2 separate regions of the Homo sapiens genome follow, and region 1 is linked to region 2. Evidence: promoter capture Hi-C in 16 types of primary human blood cells and fetal thymus (Javierre and others, 2016). All regions are on one chromosome and are shown on one strand. Each heading gives the region's core, a stretch centred on a gene start or on the middle of the fragment in contact. The rest is flanking DNA. Distances are from core to core; before and after follow the strand shown. Region 1 overlaps IPMK (inositol polyphosphate multikinase). Region 2 holds the start of SGMS1 (sphingomyelin synthase 1).

The links. Contacts are between HindIII fragments. The CHiCAGO score rates a contact against its expected background, and 5 or more counts as called.
Region 1: a fragment that was not itself captured here is called in contact with the fragment with the promoter of SGMS1 in region 2 in 1 of 17 cell types (naive CD8 T cells); the score reaches 5.3 in naive CD8 T cells.

What each region holds. Positions count from the first base shown.
Region 1 is chr10:58,263,185-58,267,582 of GRCh38, reverse strand. IPMK (inositol polyphosphate multikinase) reads left to right here. Exons shown (of 6, transcript NM_152230.5): 1 at 1-161. Among named protein-coding and RNA genes, the nearest start is that of IPMK, 2.5 kb to the left of the region's middle. RefSeq lists enhancers at 160-454, 409-518. The HindIII fragment of the contact is 1,554 bases long and covers 672-2,225 here.
Region 2 is chr10:50,622,064-50,626,136 of GRCh38, reverse strand. It overlaps SGMS1 (sphingomyelin synthase 1), which reads left to right and starts at 2,181. Exons shown (of 11, transcript NM_147156.4): 1 at 2,181-2,430. SGMS1-AS1 (SGMS1 antisense RNA 1) reads right to left here and starts at 1,186. Exons shown (of 4, transcript NR_126411.1): 1 at 946-1,186. RefSeq lists silencers at 1,014-1,643, 1,768-1,925, 1,974-2,233, 2,494-2,833 and enhancers at 1,784-2,312, 3,024-3,423, 3,974-4,073. The HindIII fragment of the contact is 12,791 bases long and covers 1-4,073 here.

The DNA.
Region 1 (4,398 bases), core at 199-2,698, 7.6 Mb before region 2:
GGTCGAGGCGCCGGGCCCCCCAGAAATGCGGACCTCACCGGCGATCGAGTCCACCCCTGAGGGCACCCCGCAGCCGGCGGGCGGCAGACTCCGCTTCCTCAACGGCTGCGTGCCCCTCTCGCATCAGGTGGCCGGGCACATGTACGGGAAGGACAAAGTGGGTAAGTGGGGGTGGCATAGGTCTCGCCGCTCCCCTTCCGCCTGTGCGAGCCCCCTGTCAGCGGAGGCAGCCTAGCGCTCTCGGGCCTGCCTGGACGCCCCCCTGGTGTGCACGCCAAATCCCTGGCCTCTTCCGCTGTCCCCCGAAGCCTCGCCACTCGAGCAGAAGGGGCTCGGAAAGTGGGACAATTCCTAGGGTGTGGGTCGTCAGGCTTGCAGCACGGGTGGCAGGGAGAGGCGTGTCTGGTCTCACCCACCCCCCAGGGAGGTTGGGTGTTGATTGGAGACGGCGTTGTTAGTGAAAATAAGGAACTTCATTTTTACTGGACGGGGAAGTAAATTCTCCCTTGAGCACAAGGTCTGTTTATTATAGGCGAGTAGCTATTGCAAAAGAAAAGGAATGAAATGCAGATGATGCTAATCTAGTACTTCTCTGCTGGGTGCAGCTGCATAGCTGGAGGGGAAGAAAAACACTGGGCTTTTTTAGGGGGAGGTGAGAAGGGAAGAAAGCTTGTCCGTGATTTTTCCCTGTCCCTTGAGGAGGTTTTTCTGGTGTCTCCTTGATTTCTCTGGGAGGCGTGGTTCCAGTAGTGCAGAAACTCGGATTCCTGGTGGGAAATTCACACGCATATTGTACCAGAATGATACACAAAATGTTCAGCTATTCTTGTTCATTTTATAAGGCTGTATCATGGCCACTGTAATACATTTTCTGAGTTCACAAGTTTAAAGCCTATCTCAGTTTAGGAACTCTAATTCATCTAGTTTACCCGTAGTGGTTCCCTGGGCCATGATTACTGGGGTAATCTGATGGATGAGTATGTGAGTATTGTGGATCTTTGACCCGGAAGAGCCACTAGAGACAATTTAGTTTATGCCGGTAAAACGATTCGGGTTTAGGTTGCTAATACTGACATTTTTAGACGAGGTGACTAAGGCCAACCCTGGTTAAGAATGACGTGCCTGAAGTCACGTTACAATATGTTAAGAATTGTGAAACCAAGAGTTCTTCCTTTGAGTACTGTATTTTTTCACCATGTATTGTGTTTGCTGAAACAACTCAAGGCTTTTAGAAAATGGATAAGTATTAATTTGAGTATATGCTATTTCTCAAAGCGACATTTTCCACTACTTTTATTTTTACCTACTTTGTTTGTGTGCCTTTCTCCCCACTGAATTGTGAATTCCTAGATGTTAGAGAGAGAATCTGTATTCTCTCATAGCCTTGTGCACGGACTGGGAATCAGTAACACTCAGGAAATATTGAATAGTGAAAATTGACAGTTGTTTTAGTATACCGAGGTAAAGAAACAACGTCCTCAAGTTGCTCAGCATAGACATTTCCTCCTGTGTGCCAGTGTCTTGTAATGAGAATTTGAGAGTACTCATGGGGTTTCTGTTAATAGAGGAATGCCTATTGATTTATATTAATACATTGTGATTTTACTATTCCTAATAATATTCTAGATGCCTGAAAAAGTAAATGTTTCCCTAAAGGTCCCTAGAGATTGACTTATATGCAAAGGAGAATAGATTTTAAAAATCTCAACATAAAAACAATCTAAATAATTGTCACTTAAGAGTGTAACCACTGCTTATTACAGTATGTAATAGTGATCCCATTCAGAGTGATTGCAAATAGTGGCTGAAAAGTTAATTTGTCACCCAAATTGCCTAATTAATGGAAAAGTTTAGATTCTAGAGGTAGTAGTCCTTAATTTTATTATGGCATTCAGTGTAAAATAAACTTTTTTTGCAATTTCATAAGGGTCTTTTGAGTAGGGACAGTGTTTGTGTCACCATAGTAGAATGGCTTAAACATACTGTGCTAGCAACCTAATATTTGTTGAATTTAATTCTCAGATAGTTATACAATCCTGACTGTATTGTTAAGTAAAAGGATACTTGACTGATGATATATTCCCTATTTGTAAAATGGATAAGATGGTCACTAATTCAAAGTTCAACAGTTTTATTATGTTTCTCCACTGTCATAAGTCATGTACAGTTTACATCATTTAGATCATGCTTTGGTCTGTCAATTGAAATAATTCTCAGGATAAGCTTTGTTAAGGACGTTATGTTGGTATTTGTTTTGTTTTTAAATTTGTGTTACTATCAGTAAGTAACCAGAAATGTTCCATTTAGAATTATTTTACCTATTTCCAAAAAGGAGTTGTTGGCTTTGTTAGTTTAAAAATTAAACTCATGGAACTTGATAGAACAAAGGTGCTTGAACAGAAAAATAGATCTTGTTATATATGCTAAGTAACAAGCATATATTAGTAGTTCAGACATCCGTTATATTTTGTGTTCTTCACTGAAACCATATTTCATCAAAATACATTTAAATCTTAGTTCTAAGAATACAAAGTATTTTGTTTTTTAAACTGTAAAAATTGTATAGTACACGGATCTTTTAGGAAAAAAATTCAGTTTAAGTAGTGCCCTTCCCCCTACTCATTCTCCCAGGGGCAATCACTGGTAACTACTTCCTGTCTATCCTTTCAGGCCTTTGTTTCTGGGCACATACATAAACACATTAGCGCGGTTCTGTTTTTTTATACAAATAAATCTATCAGCAACTTTTCTCATTCTGTATTATATCATGTATTATACCTATATTTTTGCACTTACGGTATACTTTATTCTTTCTAAAAATTGTGTTCTACAATGTGGATGTATCACAATTTATTTAACTATTTCTGTAATCATAGATTTTTAGACTTTTCACCATTTGTTTGCTGTGATAAGTAATGTACTTATTAAACATTCTTGTATATAATAGCATACCTTGCACGTTGTGTACCTATCTCTGTAGGAAGTTTTCGCAAAAAAAAGATCAATATAAATTCCCAAAACTCACCAAAGTTAGCATAAAATTCTTTTAATATGTATCATTAAGTTCTTTAAAAAGTCCTTAAAGTTTTAAACAAATGATGGAAATCTGATATTTCTTGATCTGATGTAGGATGTAGAAATGGGGTAGTCTATAGGGAAAACAAGGATTTAAACTGATAATTGTTGTGGGGGAGAAAGACCTACAATTATCTTGGCTTAGTAGTCTCTTTTTATTAGATATCCTCTGAAACTAATTAACCTAAAATAATTTCAAGCCTACAGAAAAGTTGCAAGAACAATAGAAAAGTAACATTTTGCAAAATTTGTTTTATTATCTCTCAATGCAAATAATTTTTCTTAACTATTTGCAAGTAGGTTGCATACATTATGCCACTTTACATGTTAATACTAAAGTGTGTCTTCCTTAAGAACAAGGATATTCTCTTCTGTAGCCACAGCACATTGATCAACTATGGGAAATTTAACAGGGATATAATACTTTAATCTATAGTCCATAGTCTCACTTTGTCAACTGTTCCAATACTGTAATGTCTTTTATCACATTTGTTTTTCTCAGTACAGGATCTGGTCCAGAATCATTTATTGCAATTAGTTGTTATGTCTTTTAGTGTCCTTTCATTTGTAACATATCCTCAGCCTTTCCCTGTCCTTTATGACATTGTCATTTTGAAGAGTACAGGCCAGTTATTTTATGAAATGTTCTTTAATTTGGGTTTCTGATAGTTCCTTACGATGGGATTCAGATGATACTTTTCCAGCTGGAACATTGTGTAAGTGGAGGCCAACAATAGCTGCCCTTTGGTAGTGGATTATTTCTGGTTGTCTGATTCAAGTGTAGTCTGGCTTCTTCAGTATATCGTTTTGTTTGTTTGTTTTTTGAGACAGGCTCTTGCTGTGTCACCTAGGCTGGAGTGCAGTGGCGTGATGTAGTTCACTGCAGCCTCAAACTTCAGGGCTCAAGCAATCCTCCTGCCTCAGCCTCCTGAGTAGCCGGGAGTATAGGTGCACACCACTAGGCCAGGCTAATTTTTTTTTTTTTTAACGGAGTCTTGCTCTGTTGCCCAGGCTGGAGAACAGTGGCGCGGTCTTGACTCACTGCAACCTCCGCCTCCCAGGTTCAAGTGATTCTCGTGCCTCAGCCTCTTAAGTAGCTAGGATTACAGGAGTGCACCACCATGCCTGGCTAATTTTTGTATTTTTAGTAGAGACGGGGTTTTGCCATGTTGGCCAGGCTGGTCTTGAGCTCCTGGCCTCAGGTGATCCACCCACCTCTGCCTGCCAAAGTGCTGGGATTACAGGCATGAACCACTGCTGGGCCAGGCTAATTTTAAAATTTTTTGTAGAGATGGGATCTGGCTTTGTTGCCCAGGCTGGTCT
Region 2 (4,073 bases), core at 932-3,431:
AAGTACATCAAAGACCAGATGCTTACTTGGACCTTTGTTTCAGGAAGTCCAGAGCTTACAGCATATTCTGGATAGCACTGGAGAGAAACCAACACGGGAGAGAAAGCAGCCAGCAGTTTTCTGGCACTCCCTTAGTTTGAAAAAATTTACATCACAAGAAAGCAAGCCTTCCTTTCACCTTTTAGGTGCAAACTGATAAACATAACCAGTAGGGCTACTATACTTCACAGAGCCTTGCTCCCAGTAGATACTCAAAACATGCAGTTGAACTGAATTTCAGTTGTTATTTTAAAGCCGTGCTTGAAAAGCGTATGTGACAAATGTACTTTCCTAATCTTCCTGAGAAGAGCAGTACTGTGTCTTACGGGCGAAAAAACCAGAGGAGCCAGGAGTGGAGGGTGCAATAAAACGCCTGCATTGGGGCAGATTGCCTCATTTTGAATCCCTGACTCCTCACTGTGCTTTGGGGAAAACTATGGAAATTTTCACTGCCTAGCTTATTAAAATGGACTGCTTAGCTGAAATATAGAGGCGTCCATGACAACTACCCGGAGGGCTTTGTTAATCATATTGCAGGACTCCACCCGCAGTTTCTGGTTCTGTAGGTCTAGGTGGGGCCGAAAACGTGCATTTCTAACAAATTCTAGGGTGATAGTGACGCGGCAGGTCCCGAGACAACAGGAAACCCAAGGGACTCGAGGCAGGCGCTCAATAAATATTCACTATGAACCTCAGCACCATCGAAGCGGCCCACCAGCAGGGGCCGCGGGGTATGCGCTGCAGGGAAGAGCACGGCCTCTGTCCAATGTCCCTGCCGGTACATCACTCCTCTGCAGGGACTAGGTTAGAACCGGGAGGCAGCCAGAGCAGCGCTCTCGCTGGATAACGGAAGAGGACTCCCTCGCCAACTTCCGCCTCTGGGGAAAAGCGGGGACCCTCCGCCACCTGAGTTCTGTTGTCTCGATTTCGCCGCAGTTTGCTTCTGGCCCGGGCGAGAACCTGTCCTCTGGGCAAGCCAGGGGTCGGTACAGGACTCCTATACCCCAAGGCGAGGCGGAGGCAGGTGCCGAGCGGTGGCCAGAGTCCGGCGCCCAAAGCCCGATGGGAGGGCGTGGCGGGGGAGGACGGTCCCGCCAGCTCCCAGGTCGGTTCCGAGCGCCCGCGGCCCGATGGCCGGGCGGAAGATGGCTGCCCGGAGCGCCGCGGACAGTCACGTGGTACGCCGGGCCCGTAGCCGCGCCCCTTCCCCCGCTCGCCAAGTCCCCGACCCCGCGGGAGGCACGGCCTCGGGCTGCCTGTAGGCCACCGAGGTGCGGCGCGGGCCGGCCAGGGACGGCGGGCATCGGGGCGGGAAGGCCAGCTCTCCCCGCTGTCCATCCTAACTTGGGCGCTGGGGCTTCGCTCGGGGAGCAGAGGAAAACCTTCCTTCAGGCGACTTGCACCACGTGGGGCTACTGGGCATGCGCGGGCTCCGACCCCGGCCTAGCCGCTCTCCGGGTTTTCGCCGCAGCTCGGAGGGGCGGCGGAAGGTGGGCCCCAGGCGGGGCGGGGCGGCTCTGACGCAGTCGGAGTTTTCACCTCGCGCGGTTAGAGCTCTTGCGCCTCCGTCGCGCTCCCAGGCGTCGCCAGAGGCTTTTTTTTTCTGTTGTGGGAGAAAGATGAGAGTCTATGGTTAGAGGTTTGAAAATGGGCCGAATAGTCAGGTCGGCCGTTTCCTAGGAATGATCCATTGGGCATTAATCCCAAGTGTCGCAGCCCTTGGGCTTGGTGGGAAAAAGAATCCAGTAGTAGTTCGCAAACTCGTGCCTGGCTTCCAGCAGGCTGAGTTTGCGTTCCCTGCTTTGTGACCAGCTCTAGCGGCTCCCGTCTCCGGCCCTGCCCCAAGGGATTTACCGTCCCAGATTGTAAAATCTGGCTCCCGCTAGGCCTTACTTAGTGGGCCCCTAAAAACGCTGGGGAAAGCGCCCGCCTCCTCAGTTTCCCATTACTTGAAAGTAAAATTCAAGGGGCCCAAACTGCGACTGTCCCTTGGTTCGGGGTCCCGCTCGGTCCCGGGAGGAGCCCCCCGCGGACCCCGCCCGGCCGGCCCGCCCCCCCGGCCGCAGTGAACACCCGGAGGAGCGGAGTCGCGTCGCGCGGGAAGCCGGGCCGGCTCGGGCAGCGGACTGGGCATGCTCGGCAGCCCGGGAGGCTCGCGGTGGCAAGTCGAAAGCGTTCGCACCAGCGGGGCAGCGGCTGCGGGCGGCAGGCGGCGGGCAGGTCGGGAGTGAGAAGGACCGGCCTGGGCTGACTGCTCTCCCCTCGCGCCTAGGGAGCCGGTCGGAGAGCGCGATTGGGGTGCGGAGCCCCGACGCTGCCCTGCCCCGGATTTCATTCCGCGGCGGGGGCTCCGCGAGCGGAATTCCGGCGGCTGCCGTGACTCCAGTGCAAGTGAGTCGTGGGGCAGGGACAGACAGCCGGCCTCACGGTTGCGGGGGCCGATCGGACACCTGTCTCGCGGGCCCGGCCTTATGCCGGGGAGCAGCGGGCGGGCTGCTCTGGGGCGAGGGGGCGTGAGCGCAGCCCGCGCGGTGCCGCGCGCGTACCTGGCGGGCAGTCCTCCAGAGCTGCTGCTCCCGTGGGTGGTCACAGCGGGGAGGTCCGGCGGCCGGGATCCGGGCTCGGAGGGGGCGGGCCGCCGGCGGGGCTCCCCGGCTAAGTTGGGGCGGGGAGGAAGGAGGAGGCGTCAGTGGGCACCTTTTCAGAGCTACTGCGTGCGGGCTGGAAGGCTGCCTGGTGTCGGATTGGGGCGATCGGGAGGCGGGGAGCCTTTGGGCAGTAGCCCGCCCGGGGTCCGGAGACCCCCACCCAGGGGCCGACTCCAATCACGGCTCCACCCCCACAGCCTAGGTGGCGGTGTGACAGTTGGTACCTTCGGTCCAGATCGCAGCCGGCCAGGCGCCCACTATTTCGGGATCCCCCCACCGTAGCCCCTCGATGCCCCCTGACGACAAAACAGGTGGGACCCCCCCTCCCCGAGGAGCGCTCCCCTTCTCTCCAGGCCGCGTAACAGCCCGCCAGGCTCGCGGGCGGCTCTGAGACCCCGCAGGGCTGCCCCCGCGGGGCGGGGACGTTTAGGGGCAAGGCCTGGAGGGGAATCGGCGCAGCCCAGAACTGGACAGTCTCTCCAGGACGCCGCTTTTCCGTGACAGAGGGGGTCTGCGCTATCCCCCAGCGACGTGTCAAGGGCAAAACAGCAGCAGCAGCGGCTGCCTCTCCCACCGTCTTAACCCGAACTCGGGCTTGTGGCGTCCTCCCGTGGGCCGGATAGAGTGCCCTAGTCCAGCTAACGGATTCAGCCTGGAGCGTTCTGGTGAATGCTGCTTTCCTCTTTGGTGCCGCGAAGTAGAAATCGGGATAAGGGTTGTCATGGCCGGAGGGAGCGAAGAGAATCCAGGCAGGTGCTTCTCAGATGTTTCTTTTCACCTTCAAACAGTACAGACTTCAGCGGTACACGCTTACGAAACCAAGTGAAGGCTGCTTTCTGAAAGGGAAGTTTATTTTCTATGTTCTGGGGCCTGTCGACTATTTTAGCTCCCTTGACATTTATCTTCCTGGACCTTTAAAGCTGTTTGGACAGGTTATTTTGCTTTTAGGTTTGGGGATGTTTCTAGTTGGCTCCCTGGATGTGGAAGTGGCGAATGTCTGATGTGCTGTGCTGTGAACTCCCCACGCTTCCTGGCACTGGGGGTTGAAACATTCAGGGGGGACTGAGTGGGCCGAAGGAGAGGAGTGGGACTGGTGACGTAGGAACGCGATGGGTGTTGCCTAGAGCTGCCCAGATGGAAAGGGGTTGGCGGCTGTTTTGGCCTGTGCAGAAGGGGAGAGGGCGGGGCGTTTCATTGGTCGGGGTGTGAAACGTCCACGGGCGAAGGCTGCGGGGGATGGGTGCCTGTCTGGTCAGTGCTCCAAGGGAAGCCCAGGGATGTTTGGTGATTCAGCAGGTGGCAGCCTTCCAGCTCTGAAGACATGCCGTGGCCAAGCAAAGAAGCAAGCAAGCAAGCAAGCAGCAGCCTGTGCCTGCTGTCGGAGGC